Regions from separate parts of the Homo sapiens genome. Here regions 1, 2 and 4 are each linked to region 3. The links are contacts of gene promoters, found by promoter capture Hi-C in blood cells and fetal thymus (Javierre and others, 2016). All regions are on one chromosome and are shown on one strand. Each heading gives the region's core, a stretch centred on a gene start or on the middle of the fragment in contact. The rest is flanking DNA. Distances are from core to core; before and after follow the strand shown.

Region 1 (3,135 bases), core at 199-2,698, 640 kb after region 3:
GGCTTCAGGCTGTCCTCCTGTGTAGTTCTTTTGCCACCACTAAGTGTAGGAGATGGCCCCTGCCTTTATATCTGTAGCTCCAGGGGATAGTACCAGGACCAATAGGGGCTAATGATGAGGAAGCCAATTTTAGCTAATCAAATAAATAACTTGCTAACAGCAAAAACTGTCCACTGTAAGCAGGCCTGCTTTGGGAGATAGAGATTTTCTCTCTTGGCAGATGATCTTCAAGCAGAAGCTCCCAGGAAACCTCTAGGGGAATTTTCTGTATTGGCTTGGGAATTGTACCAGTTCCCCACTAAGCTCCTTCCGAGCCTGTGATTCTGGGATGAACCAGTGGTCTATTTAGAATAGGTGACTGTAACAGTGAGAAGTAGACCAGGCAAACAGTAATTTTTAAATATTTATTTATTTTTAAATTTACATAGAGTAAAATGTATTCTTCTTGATTTACAGTTCTATGTGTTTTGGCAAATGCATAGTCGTGTAACCACTACCACAATCAAGAGTTTTTGAATACTTAAAAATTCAGTCTTGCTGTCTATTTGTAGTCAAACCCTTCCCCTGTTCTTAACAAATGCAACCATAGGTCTGCTCTTCATCACTATAGTTGTGCCTTTTCTAGACTGTCATATAAATGGAATCAAGCAAAGTGCAGCCTTTTGAGACTGGCCCCTTTCACTTAGCATAATGCTTTGAGAAATTAATCCATGTCACTGCATGTATCAGTAGCTTTTCTATGCTGAGTAGTATTTAGTTCATTCATTCACCATTTGAAAGACATTTGGGTTATTTCCTCTTTTGTGGATTATAAATAAAGCTACTAAAAACATTTCTTTACAGGTTTTTGTATGCATATAAGCTTTCATTTTTCTTGAGTGAATACTTAGGAATAGGATTGTTGGGCCTTGTGACAAGTGTGTAATTAGCTTTCGAAGAGGTTCTCAAACTCTTTTCTAAAATAGCTATACCATTTTGAAGTCTCAGCAGCAGTATATAATCGATTGCTCCGCATACTAACCAGTACTTAGTATTATCTGTTCGTTTGTTTTAGCCATTCTAATAGGTGTGTAGTTGTATATCATTGTGGTTTTCATTTCTATTTCCCTAGTGACTAATGGTGTTGAGCATCTTTTCATATGCTTATATACCATCTTTATGCTTCTTTGGTAAAATGAGTTCAAAGCTTTTGTTCATTTTCATTTGAGTTGCTGCTTTCCTTATTGTTGAATTGTAGGGTTCTTTATATATTCTGTATGTAAGTCCTTTGTTGAGCATATGATTTACAGATATTTTCTGCAAATCTTTAGCTTATCTTTTCATTTACTAAACAATATCTTTCTTAGAACAAAAGTTTTTAATTTTTATGAAGTCCAGTTTGTCAATGTTTTTCTTTTATAGATCATGCTTTTGGGGTCATACCCCAAGAACTTTTTCTTAACATAGGGCCACAAAAATTTTTCTCCTGTCTTTTCTTCTAGAAGTTTTATAGTTTTACATTTTAAATTTAGATCTATGATCTATTTTGAGTTGATTTCTGTATAAGGTATGAAGGATGGATCAGGTTCTTTTTTTTATTTTGCAACAAGATGTCCAATTATTCCAGCATCTTTTGTTGAAAAGAGTATCCTTTCTTCAGTTGTCTTTCTGCCTTGGTCAAAAACCAATTGCCAAAAAAAAAAAAGAAAAACAAATGGGTTTGGACAAGGAGAAGCTTAAAAAAAAGAAAAAGAAAAAAGACCTTTGAAACTTTGTATTCAAAGTTAGGAGGAGTAAGCTTTAGTGAGCTATTGCACCACGTGGTAACTATAGTTAATAATAATGTATTGTACAAAAATTAGCCAGGCGTGGTGCCACGTGCCTGTAGTCCCAGATACTCAGGAGGCTGAGGCAGGGGAATCACTTGAACCCGGGAGGTGGAAGTTGCAGTGAGCCAAGATCGCACCACTGCACTCCAGCCTAGGCAACAGAGCGAGACTCCATCACAAAATAATAATAATAATAATAATAATAATAATAATAATAATAATGTATATTTAAAAATTGCTAAAAGAGTAGACTTTAAATGTTCTCATTGCAAAAAAAAATTAGGTGAGGTGACAGATATGTTAATTAGCTTGATTTAATCATTTCACAATGTATACATATATCAAAACATCATATTGTACTCTATAAATAGATATAATTATTGTCACTTAAAACTACTTAAAAAATCAATTGACCATATTTGTGTGAATCTCTTTCTAGACTCTAGTCCTTCCGTAGATCAGTATGTTTATTCTTTCATCAATACCACGCTATCTTATTATAGTAGCTTTATAGTTAGTCTTAAAACCACATGGTGTGAGTCTGTCTTCCAGTTTTGTCCTTTTTTTTTCAGTATTGTGTTAGCTATCTAATTCTTTTTCCTTTTTTAAATAAATTTAGAATCAGCATGTCGATATCTATAACATTCCTGCTGAGATTTTGACTGGGATTGCAGTGATTCTATAAATCAAATTGGGGGCCGGGCACAGTGGCTATGCCTGTAATCCCAGCACTTTGGGAGGCCAAGGCAGGTGGAACATTTGAGATCAGGAATTTGAGAGCAGCCTGGCCAACACAGTGAAACCCCATCTCTACTAAAAACATAAAAATTAACCGGGCGTGGTGGCAGGTGCCTGTAATCCCAGCTACTTAGGAGGCTGAGGCAGGAGAATTGCTTGAACCCAGGAAAGGGAGATTGCAGTGATCTGAGATCGCACCACTGCTCACCAGTCTGGGCAACAGAGCAAGACTCTGTCTCAAAAAAATTATATATATATCAAATTGGGAAGAATTATGTCTTAATAGTCAATGAAAACAGTATATCTTTCCATTTATTTAGGTGTTCTTTTATTTCTTTCATCAGTGTTTTGTATACAGATCTTACACATATATTATTAGATTTATATGTATTTCCTGTTTTTTGGTGCTCTTCTAAATAATTCCATGCAACTGAATGATGTTGATTCCTTGAAAAAATTTTAGACTCCCTTTATTGTCAAGTATGCAGCATTTCAAAAAATTGTTCTACATGAACTTGAAAACAATGGGTATTCTGTGGGTGAGGGAGTAAAACTTACGTTTATCTAGTAGCTCAAGCTCCTTAATTAT
Region 2 (3,252 bases), core at 277-2,776, 590 kb after region 3:
TCATTTTCTACTTCTATGCATAATACATTTTTGGTGAATCTTTCCAGGTCTTAATTCTTTTCATTTTCTGTGTGACCTAACTGAGGAAACCATCCTGGCTTTCTTTTTTTTTGGAGACGGAGTCTTGCTCAGTTCACCAGGCTGGAGTGCGGTGGCGTGATCTCGGCTCACTGCAAGCTCCACCTCCTGGGTTCACGCCATTCTCGTGCCTCAGCCTCCCGAGTACATCCTGGCTTTTTAGGCTGCTCCAAGAAGTTCTGTTCTATCCTTTACCTATAGGGATTCTAGTCCCTACCTATAAGGATTCCAGGGTGTCAGTTCTGACCTTGTCCCTCTTTTGTCCTCTGCTGAGCCCAGCAAGCCATCATCTTAATCATACAAAACCAAAATACCTAAAGGGGAAGGTCAGACCTGCTACCTAGCCATTTAGTTTGGAAAATGCAAACATTTATTTTCTTTGTTCCGATAGAAAATACCTCCTACTTCAGTGACTTCAAACTGGCATAAGCTAATAAATGAAGCTAGCTCAGAAGTGTATACTTTCTGCTTCATGGGCCTGAAGAGTCACCACAATATAGACATACTAGAGCAGTGGCAGAGTCCAGCCTGCAAGTGTCTGGGTTTAGAAACTAACAGATATTTCAAGTTCTTTATAGACTAGGCATTAAAAAGCTACTAGAACAGAGGGTGTAGCATTTATGGAGATGAGGCCGCACACTAAATCCTTCTACAGAATCATCTGGTACAAGCCCTGTAAGACACATTTTTCTAAACTGGCATTCCCCAGTGCCAACTGAATTTTGTATGGGCCACAAAATATTAAGTTCTGCTTTTCCAAACCATCTAACAGCTGGATAGATCATGAAAGGTAGTTTGGGAATTGTTTCCTGTTTTATATTTCAAGTACCTGACTTCTGTTTGTTTCAGCCTTGCATAAGTTTCTCTCCATTATTTCTGGCTTTTCAGTGTCTGGGAAATCTGTGGCATTTTTTTTTTATTAGAAAACATAGTATTGGGTCTTGAATTTGTTCTCTTAAAAGAAAATTACTCTGTAAGCATGGGCCAAGCGTCAGGAACTCCTCAGAATCAGATTCTGCTCCCAAACATTTTTGCAGAAGCTTCATCTTGTACCATTTATGAACTGCTTATAGCAGATGTCTTGGTGGGAAGAGGGTGGATACTGGATGTATCAGGCCTATCAGCTGCTGTGCAGCCTGGGACAGGTTTTCTTCAGATTTCTGTGACCCCTGGTGAAAAAGGAGGAACTGTGTCAGGCCCCAGCTATATCTTAAAGATGTAGGAGACTCCTAAGTCTGAGGATTCCTCAGTCCTTTAGGACACTTCCTTCTTGCAGTAAACTTGAGTCTTTCTTACATCCTTGCCTTGTGACCCTTTTATTTCCAGACCTGAAAAAAAATACAGAGAAACTTATTTTTTAAACTCTGAGTGGTCTTGAATTCAACTATTTCTATAACAGTCTATGGCTCCTTAATTCCAGAACCTCAGAAAACAGTTGTGAAATTATTTGATGATTCTTTCAGTAAGAAGGTAGCTGCTGCTTAGTGACAATTTGGATATTTGAGAAAAAATTTTTAAAAATAAAGTACCTATCTATCTCCATAGTTAGAATTGCCCAACACCTGATTTTGGTATAGAAACTGCTGTTACTTTGCCCCTTGTTTCCTGCTATGTGAGTTCCTGAGCATCTTCAACATCTCTCCATCACTTTTTCTCCCACACTTTTCAGGCCTTGGAGTACCTTTTCAAGTTCATTGTACAGTCACGGATCCTGTACTCACGAGCCACTTGTGGAATGGAAGAGGAACAATTCAGATCCAGTATCCAAGAACTTTTCCAGTCCATCCGGTTTGTGCTCAGTCTGGACAGCCGAAACTCAGAAACACTCCTTTTTACTCAGGTTCGCACACTGCAGGGAAGCTTTGATGCTGGGTTCCTCTTTCTCAGTGGGTGGTTTCTTTGTCCTCTGGTTTTCAGAGATGAAGAAGCCCTGCCAGGATCATGTGTGTTGGGTAAGGGATTATTTACAAGGAAATACCTGATACAACAAAATGCTGCTTTTACTGCAAATCTGGCTGTGCCTCAGCTGCCAGATGTAAAACAGCTCAGTGGCTTTATGTTGGAGAAGAAGCACAAATTTGTTCTGTGAACAGTCTTTAGACCAAGTTTATTTAGCTACCATACTACTTAGTTTTTTATGAACACCTTATTCATAGGAGATATTGAGAATGTATGGGGAATTTTATTTCCAGATTAATCATTGTATTAATGAAAATTGAGCACAGTGGCTCACACCTGTAATCCTAGCACTTTGGGAGGCCAAGGTGGGCGGATTGCTTGAGCTCAGGAGTTCAAGACCAGCCTGGGCAACATGATGAAACCCCATCTCTACTAAAAATACAAAAAAATTAGCTGGGTGTGCTAGCATGCACCTGTAGTCCCAGCTACTCAGGAGGCTGAGGCAGGAGAATTGCTTGAACCCGGGAGGCAGAGGTTGCAGTGAGCCAAGATCGCACCACTGCACTCCAGCCTGGGCAACAGACTGAGACTCTGTCTCCAAAAAGAAAAAGAAAAAAAAAGAAAATTTAGATTAGCTTTTATCCATTCCAGAAGTTGAATGAAATAATTTGAAAAACAGTAGGAGTAACTAGGAATCTTTGGCTAAGAATTAAGATTAAATTAGGATCAGAGGGCTGGCAAGATGGCCAAATAGGAACAGCTCCGGACTGCAGCTCCCAGCGAGATCAACACAAAAGGCAGGTGATTTCTGCATTTCCAACTGAGGTACCCGGCTCATCTCATTGGGACTGGCTAGACAGTGGGTGCACCCATGGAGGGCAAGCAGAAGGAGGGTGGGGCGTCGCCTCACCTTGGAAGTACAAGGGGTTGGGGAACTCCCTCCCCTACCCAAGGGAAGCTGGGAGAGACTGCCTTGAGGAACAGTGCATTCCGGCCCAGATACTACGCTTTTCCCATGGTCTTTGCAACCTGCAGACCAGGAGATTCCCTCAGGTGCCTACACCACCAGGGCCCTGGGTTTCAAACAGAAAACTGGGCCACTGTTTGGGCAGACACTGAGCTAGCTGCAGGAGTTTTTCTCATACCCCAGTGGAGCCTGGAATGTCAGCGAGACAGAACCGTTCACTCCCCTGGAAAGGGGGCTGAAGCCAGGGAGACAAGCGGTCTAGTTCAGTGAATCCCACCCCCACGGAGCCCAGCAAGTTAAGATCCACT
Region 3 (3,262 bases), core at 693-3,192:
ATCAGAGCAGATGCTAGGGGGATAAGAGAGCAGGTGCATGGTCCTGCTGAAGGCCAATGTGTGCTATGCCCTTTTGCTTCAACTCACAAAAACAATCTAAATTTATACAAACAGCAAGAGTGTAGGAGTCCAGGCTTACTAAGTCCCTTCCTTCTCACTTTGGTCCCTTCTTTTCCCTTCCCTGGTTGGGTTTAATGCCCTTCCACCCTGGAGCTGAGGTGTGCAATCATGGAGAATTTTCTTCATCTGGGAAAGCCATAATCTAAGATGGATTCAGACTGGGAACAAGAGTATAAACTTTGGAAAAACTGGCCCTTAGGCTCTGTGACTGTCATCACATACAGCAGACAAGGGAGTGAACTTAGAGGATGAAATAAGAGCTTTAAGGTTGTTCCCTGAAGGCCTGCGTAGCTCAGCCCCACTTGTTGAATAGCTACCTGGAGAGTTTTGTAAGAATGTGGCTTCATTCCATAGAATACTTCCATGGTGGCCACCGGGGAGGGGTCTATCTTCTTGGAACAGTTAGCTCTTTCGTTATGTTCTTGGACACCCCTGCTACCCCTAAAAAGAAGTGTACCTGGCTATTGAGAAATTCTATCATTCACAGAACAGACATTTTTCTGGGCGGGAGTGGGCAGCTATGATTAGTGAGAGGAGGAGCCTAAAGGTCCGAAGGTGGGAAGGGGTGGCCATAACCCAGGGGAGCACAGTCAGGCCTGGGAGGAGTTACCAATCATGACACTTTGAACGAAGAATCAACAAGATCTGTTGATTGCAAGATATTCTTCTATTAGTCTGGCTTCCCATGCAACAACTATACAACAGGTGCTGGGTTGGTGGTGAGGGTTTAGAAAGTTGATTTTAGCCTGGAGCTTGCCTTCTGGGAGCTGACAGTCTTATAAGGGAAATAAGACAAACCGAACATAGCTCCAATTCCAGACAAAGAAGGAAAGGAGACTATGGGTCAGGGCAGGCTTCCTGGAGGTGAGGGGCTGAGCTGGGCTTTGAAGAGTGGTGGTGTCTGAGAGTGCTAGTGAAGGATGACACCAGGGTTTTGACTTAGTAGTGCTAGTGACAGAGATGGGCAAATCTGCTGGGATTAGAGCATGTGGTCCAAATGTAGGTGGAAAGGAGAAGTCCTGCAGTTCCTGTTCTTTGGTAAGTGGTTGACTTGGGGGTCACAAGGTGACATTTACAGGCATCAGAATGAATGGATTCTTAGGGAGGAGAGAGAGGAGGAAAGTTTCCGGTAGGAGCCAGTTCTTAGGGCTCCAAGGGAGGCAGACACCCAGGAGCAGCAGATGCCGTGTCCTGGGTAGGAACACGAAGGGCCCAATGAAGCTCTTCCTTACTAGCAAGGCGGCTGTTGATTGTTCTGGCCCCAAACATTCACCACTCAGGCCATCTCAGAGAAGCAAGAACCCAGGAGGTGTCAGCGGCCTCAGCCCACAGGGGATCCAGGAGAGAGGGGCACGAGTGCACCCCACCTGGTTCCCTCGTGGCGACTCCATCCTGCGGGCCCTGGGAATGCACAGGGTGGCTCCGGGGACCTTTCCGACAGCACTGTGGGTGACACTGGGATGGGTCTGAAAATGGTGTCGTGTCCTCCTTTTCTGGATCTCCCCTCTCCGACCAGGAGGCCTGTGGCCATCTCGGGGCGCAGGCAGGAGGCACTGGAAGCGGAAGCGAGTGGGGAGTCCGGGTAGAGGGAGTCGCCCACCTGACCGGCTTCGCCCCCTCCGGGGTTTGCTGCAGCTGAGGGCCCCGGACCAGCGATTCTAGAAGCCGGTCCGGGGCCGGGCAGTCCAATAGCTTCTCGCGGATTTCCCTCCGCTGGCGCGCAGCAGCGGCGCGTGGATTCGCGCGCGGGCTCGGGACGGCGCGAGCCCGGGCAGCGCGAGCCCCTGCGCGGCAGGGAGTGGCGCATGCGCGGGCGTCCTGCGAGCCCGCTGGGGCGAGCCGAGCCGCGGCGGCGCCGGGAGCCGGGCGGCGGAGCTGTGAAGAAGCAAGCGGCGGCACGGGAGCAGCGGCGACGGACAGGTGGCGAGCCTTCGCCCGCGCCGCCAGGGGCTGCTGGGCCACCCGCGGAGCCTCGCGGTCCAGACGTGGCGGGGGTGGCGGCGGCATCCCGGACGGCCTGTGAGGGATGCGCCGCCCACTGCCCCGCGCCGCCTGACCGTCCCCGCCTCGACTCGCGGTGCGCCACAGCCGGGCCCGCGGCCGTCCCCGCCGCGTTGTCGCCCGGTCGCCGCGCCCGCGGGGCCGCGCCCGGCACGGCCATGTGGACCCCCACGGAGGAGGAGAAATACGGCGTAGGTAGGTGAGGCTCAGGCCTGGCCGTGGCGGGGGTTCTGGGGGACGCGCCCAGCTCCCGGCCCCGCCTGGATTCGCATCCTCGTGCCCCCGCCACTGCCCGCAGGCTGCGCGGCCTCGGCGCGGGGCGAGCGCGGGGTGGGGGCAGGTGCGGGTGCGGGTGCGGGTGCGGGGGTGGGCGCGGGTCTCTGTGCAGAGAGGGCGGCAGGGGGCGCTGGCGGTGCGGCCTTGGCAGGTGCGGCCCGCGGGAGGGGTGGGCAAGGCCCGGGCAGTTGCCCGAGGTTTCTGGTGTGGGCCACGGGGCAATTTTACCCGATAAACCAAATTCTGGGAATATGTTTTCTCCCCTCCAAAAGCTCGATTTTAATGAGTTTCCGCACCTGAATTGATGAGCCCGATGGCTGTTTATTTTTGATCTGGAACCTTACAAGAAAACGGATGAAAAACGTTGACATCATTTTCCCAGTTCAAAAATTTGGACATTTGACTGCAAATGTTTGATCTGTTTTAATTTGTTTTGCCTTTAGTATTAGAAATAATACCTTACGATGGGAAATGTTTTTGGACATGTATCAATGTTTATACGGTTTTTTTTTTAAACCCTGTTTTCAGATGAGACCTTATTCCTCTTAGAAACCTTTTTTTAATGTTGTAAGTGTTAAACTCCAGAAGCTAAATAATTCTTACAATATTCAACTTCTTTAAAAAGAATATTCAGTAATTTAAAGTATTGAATGTTTTACAATGTTAGTGTTTTGTGGCAATTACATGATAGAGTTAAGCCTCATTGCATCACCTATCATCTTGTTCAGTTAGAAACAGATTTAAAATGTTGAGTGTACAGGTTTTGTTTTTCCTAAGCTCGTAATGGAAAATTTTAGATAGGAAACCTGTCTAAACATAGATTTTTGTTTCCCATCTTTACCGCAATTTAATCAAGATTTAGTTC
Region 4 (3,210 bases), core at 683-3,182, 680 kb after region 3:
CTGTCCTTTGACTACTGGTCTGTTCCACTGGAGAGGCCAGCCTGCTCCTCCTGACCTTAACTTTCTTCCTAGCGTTAATCAGAATCAGAATCCCTTCCATTCTGATTCATCCAGACACATGGCCCAGTCTGGGTGCAGTGGCTCATGCCTGTAATCCGAGCACTTGGGAAGGCTGAGGCGGGTGGATCACCTGAGGTCAGGAGCTCGAGACCAGCCTGGCCAACATGGTGAAACCCCATCTTTGCTAAAAATACAAAAATTAGCCAGGCATGGTGCCAGATACCTGTAATCCCAGTTACTTGAGAGGCTGAAGTGGGAGAATCACTTGAACCCGGGAGGCATAGATTGCAGTGAGCCCAGATTGCACCACTGCACTCCAGCCTGGGCAAGAGAGTGAGACTCTTATCTCAAAAAAACAAAAAAACAATACAGACACATGGCCCAGCCTTAGCCAAGTTCTCCCATAGTGAGAGAGGAAGTAAAAATGAGACAGAAATCCTATTTCAAGAAGATCAGGGTCTTACAAGGCCTGCCCTGTGATTAACCCTGTCCCAGGAAGCATATGGCTGGCCCTGTGACGCCTCTCTCTCTCTTTCTTCCTTTGAAGACATGCCAAGAGGGGCTGGCAGTGCCTGATACCATTTTGTTGAAATGGGTCTGGCTAGGCAGTTGGATGGGCAGACTGCATCACCAGTGGGTTTCAGGGGAACTTCCTCCAGCCACCCACTCATGACCAGCTATGACATAGGCAGAGCAAGCAGAGTTGGGGGTGCCTTGTCCACAAAGAGAAAAACTGAGACATAACCAAAAGTAAATGTGACATAACATAAAGTTTTAAGAAGTCTGTACTTAGCATGATGTTTATTTGTTCTGCTGACATGTTTGCAAAGAAATTTGCTGCCAAAGGGTTACTAATGCAATAAACAGTTACTGAATACCTACTGGGCACTGGGCAACATTAGACTGTTTCTCCCAACTAATAAAAGTGATCCTTCAGAATCACACACTTGATCACCACCCCCCCCCCATTTAAAATTATTTGGTGGCACCCATAGCAATCACTCCTTGGTAACATTGGAGTCAGGGTCAGGGTATTCCAAGGCCTGCCCAGTGATTAACCCTGTCCCGGGAAGCATATGGCTGGCCCTGTGATGCCTCTCTCTTTCTTCCTTTGAAGACATGTCAAGAGGGGCTGGCAGTGCCCCCTCTGCCCAACTGCTTCTACCAGTTCTCTACACAGACACCTTCTTTCCAGCTCCACCTTTTCCTGTCTTGATTGTTGTTGCCCTGGTTGTCACGGTACCCACATAGATTGCCCTTCTCCACTCACACCATACCATACCAGCCTGACCTAGGTGGACCTTTCAGGACGTTTTTTTAACATAGCTTTTTCTAAAATCCCATCTCCCACCTTGCTCTCTTTCCTGCGTAAGGTTTTTCTTCTTCTTCCAAGCTTCTTGCAGCCTGTACCCTTCCCTTGGGGCTGCCACACCACAGTGTAATTCTCGCTTTGTTTTTCTTCTGCCTCCTTGAGTGCAATGCCCTGTGCCTGTCCCAGGGCCTGATACAGAGAAGGCTCCTAAGATATGTTTGTGCTATATGTAGCTACTGACTCCAGGGTGGAGGTGGGGGGCTACAAGCAAAGCATACATAGAGTGTGCTCTTCTGTTTGTGGCAGAACAAAGAATACGTGTGCCGTGGCCATGACTACGAGAGGCTGGAGGCCTTCCAGCAGAGGATGCTCAGTGAGTTTCCGCAGGCTGTCGCCATGCAGCACCCCAACCATCCTGATGACGCCATCCTACAGTGCGATGCCCAGTGTATCCTTTGATACTGGGTGGGAGGAGGAGGGCAGGGGCCCTGGGAGGTGAGATCCACCCAGTCAGCTGCCCCTTTACCACATTGCCAACCATACAGGTTTAGATATCCCATAGTCCTAAACCTGAGTGTGTCCTCATTGCTTAGCACACACTTAGCAAGGCACTAATACCTCAAAGAGGAAGCAGTGGCACGCCCTTAGCAGTGGGTGGTCTAGTTATCAGTGGGGCTTCAGGAAGGCCTTTATCCCTCAGGCTGGCTGCTTCCAACAGCTTAATCCTCACCCTGCCCTATGAGGAGTCTGCCCAGGCAGCCAGGAGCAATCACTGTACAGGGTGACTTGGGGTCCTATCAGGGCTCTTGTCACAGGGATACCACCTGTGCTGTGCCCTGCTCCACTCCCATGTGTACTATTGTTGTCCCTTCTCTTCATCAGGCGGACTGGGGCAGGGCCCAAGGATGTGTGGAGCAGGAGAAGATGAGGAGTTCCTTTGGTTTGGTGGCACTTGGAAGTCTGAATGGAAACACTGCCCTTCCCCTCACCTTTCACACACAGCTTCCTTGGGGACCACATGACAGTTGCCATGACTATGGCAAGCTTGTTTCAGAGAAGGGAGGGCAAGTGGACTCTTATCTGCTTTTTTTCCACAAAAATTTCAAACAGTATTTTATTTAAAAGTTGTTCTTCAGTAAATATGCTTTACCTATAGAGGGGAAGCCCAGACCCTTGCAGCCTTCTTTCACTCCCATGGGGTGGATGCCTGCATTCCCCTCTTTCCCTTTGTTTCTTAAAGGGGCACCAGAGAACACTTGGCTGTTGACATCTCACCTTGGCTGAGTGCTCATGAAACTCAACTACTAGAGCAGGGAGAGGGAGAGAGCAGATAGAGATTTACCTAACTGAGCTTGGGTCTGATCTGCCCCTAGAGATGCCACTGCCTCCCCTACTGGGCTGTCAGTAAGGAGCAGGGACTATGGTGCACTTCTCCCCTTTGAGGAGATGACAGGGGTCAGCCTCTCAGGCCCAGCTCTGGCAAGTCTGTGTTTCTCCTTCACTTCCTGCCCAGACTTGCAGATCTATGCAGTGACGCCCATTCCAGATTATGTGGATGTTCTGCAGATGGATAGGGTACCAGATCGAGTCAAGAGCTTCTATCGCGTCAACAATGTGAGGAAGTTCCGGTATGACAGGCCTTTTCACAAAGGCCCCAAGGACAAGGAGAATGAATTCAAGGTGAACAAATCTAGGAAAACGGGCAGTACACACAGCAAGTCCAGGGGCAAGCTCAACTTCCTTGGGAACTCACCACTGTTTTATCCCTCAGGTAGGCAGGGTGTGGCAAAACTTGCCTAACTGCCCATACCTGCCTGTTCCCTCCCTACAGAGCCTGT

The links. The method cuts DNA at HindIII sites, captures the fragments that hold promoters and counts their contacts. A CHiCAGO score of 5 or more calls a contact.
Region 1: a contact is called between a fragment that was not itself captured here and the fragment with the promoter of DOCK3 in region 3, in 4 of 17 cell types (naive CD8 T cells, total B cells, naive CD4 T cells and 1 more). The highest score is 7.0, in naive CD8 T cells.
Region 2: a contact is called between a fragment that was not itself captured here and the fragment with the promoter of DOCK3 in region 3, in 1 of 17 cell types (monocytes). The highest score is 6.5, in monocytes.
Region 4: a contact is called between a fragment that was not itself captured here and the fragment with the promoter of DOCK3 in region 3, in 3 of 17 cell types (megakaryocytes, naive CD4 T cells and naive CD8 T cells). The highest score is 6.2, in megakaryocytes.

What each region holds. Positions count from the first base shown.
Region 1 is chr3:51,315,594-51,318,728 of GRCh38, forward strand. All of the region lies in intron 32 of DOCK3 (dedicator of cytokinesis 3), which reads left to right. Among named protein-coding and RNA genes, the nearest start is that of MANF, 68 kb to the right of the region's middle. The HindIII fragment of the contact is 528 bases long and covers 1,185-1,712 here.
Region 2 is chr3:51,258,409-51,261,660 of GRCh38, forward strand. DOCK3 (dedicator of cytokinesis 3) reads left to right here. Exons shown (of 53, transcript NM_004947.5): 23 at 1,748-1,918. Among named protein-coding and RNA genes, the nearest start is that of MANF, 130 kb to the right of the region's middle. The HindIII fragment of the contact is 820 bases long and covers 1,117-1,936 here.
Region 3 is chr3:50,672,985-50,676,246 of GRCh38, forward strand. It overlaps DOCK3 (dedicator of cytokinesis 3), which reads left to right and starts at 1,943. Exons shown (of 53, transcript NM_004947.5): 1 at 1,943-2,316. The coding sequence starts at 2,280. It overlaps MIR4787 (microRNA 4787), which reads left to right and starts at 2,096; the gene lies at 2,096-2,179. RefSeq lists a silencer at 1,907-2,196. The HindIII fragment of the contact is 16,225 bases long and covers 1-3,262 here.
Region 4 is chr3:51,353,204-51,356,413 of GRCh38, forward strand. DOCK3 (dedicator of cytokinesis 3) reads left to right here. Exons shown (of 53, transcript NM_004947.5): 41 at 1,679-1,820; 42 at 2,886-3,052; 43 at 3,204-3,210. Among named protein-coding and RNA genes, the nearest start is that of MANF, 30 kb to the right of the region's middle. The HindIII fragment of the contact is 963 bases long and covers 1,452-2,414 here.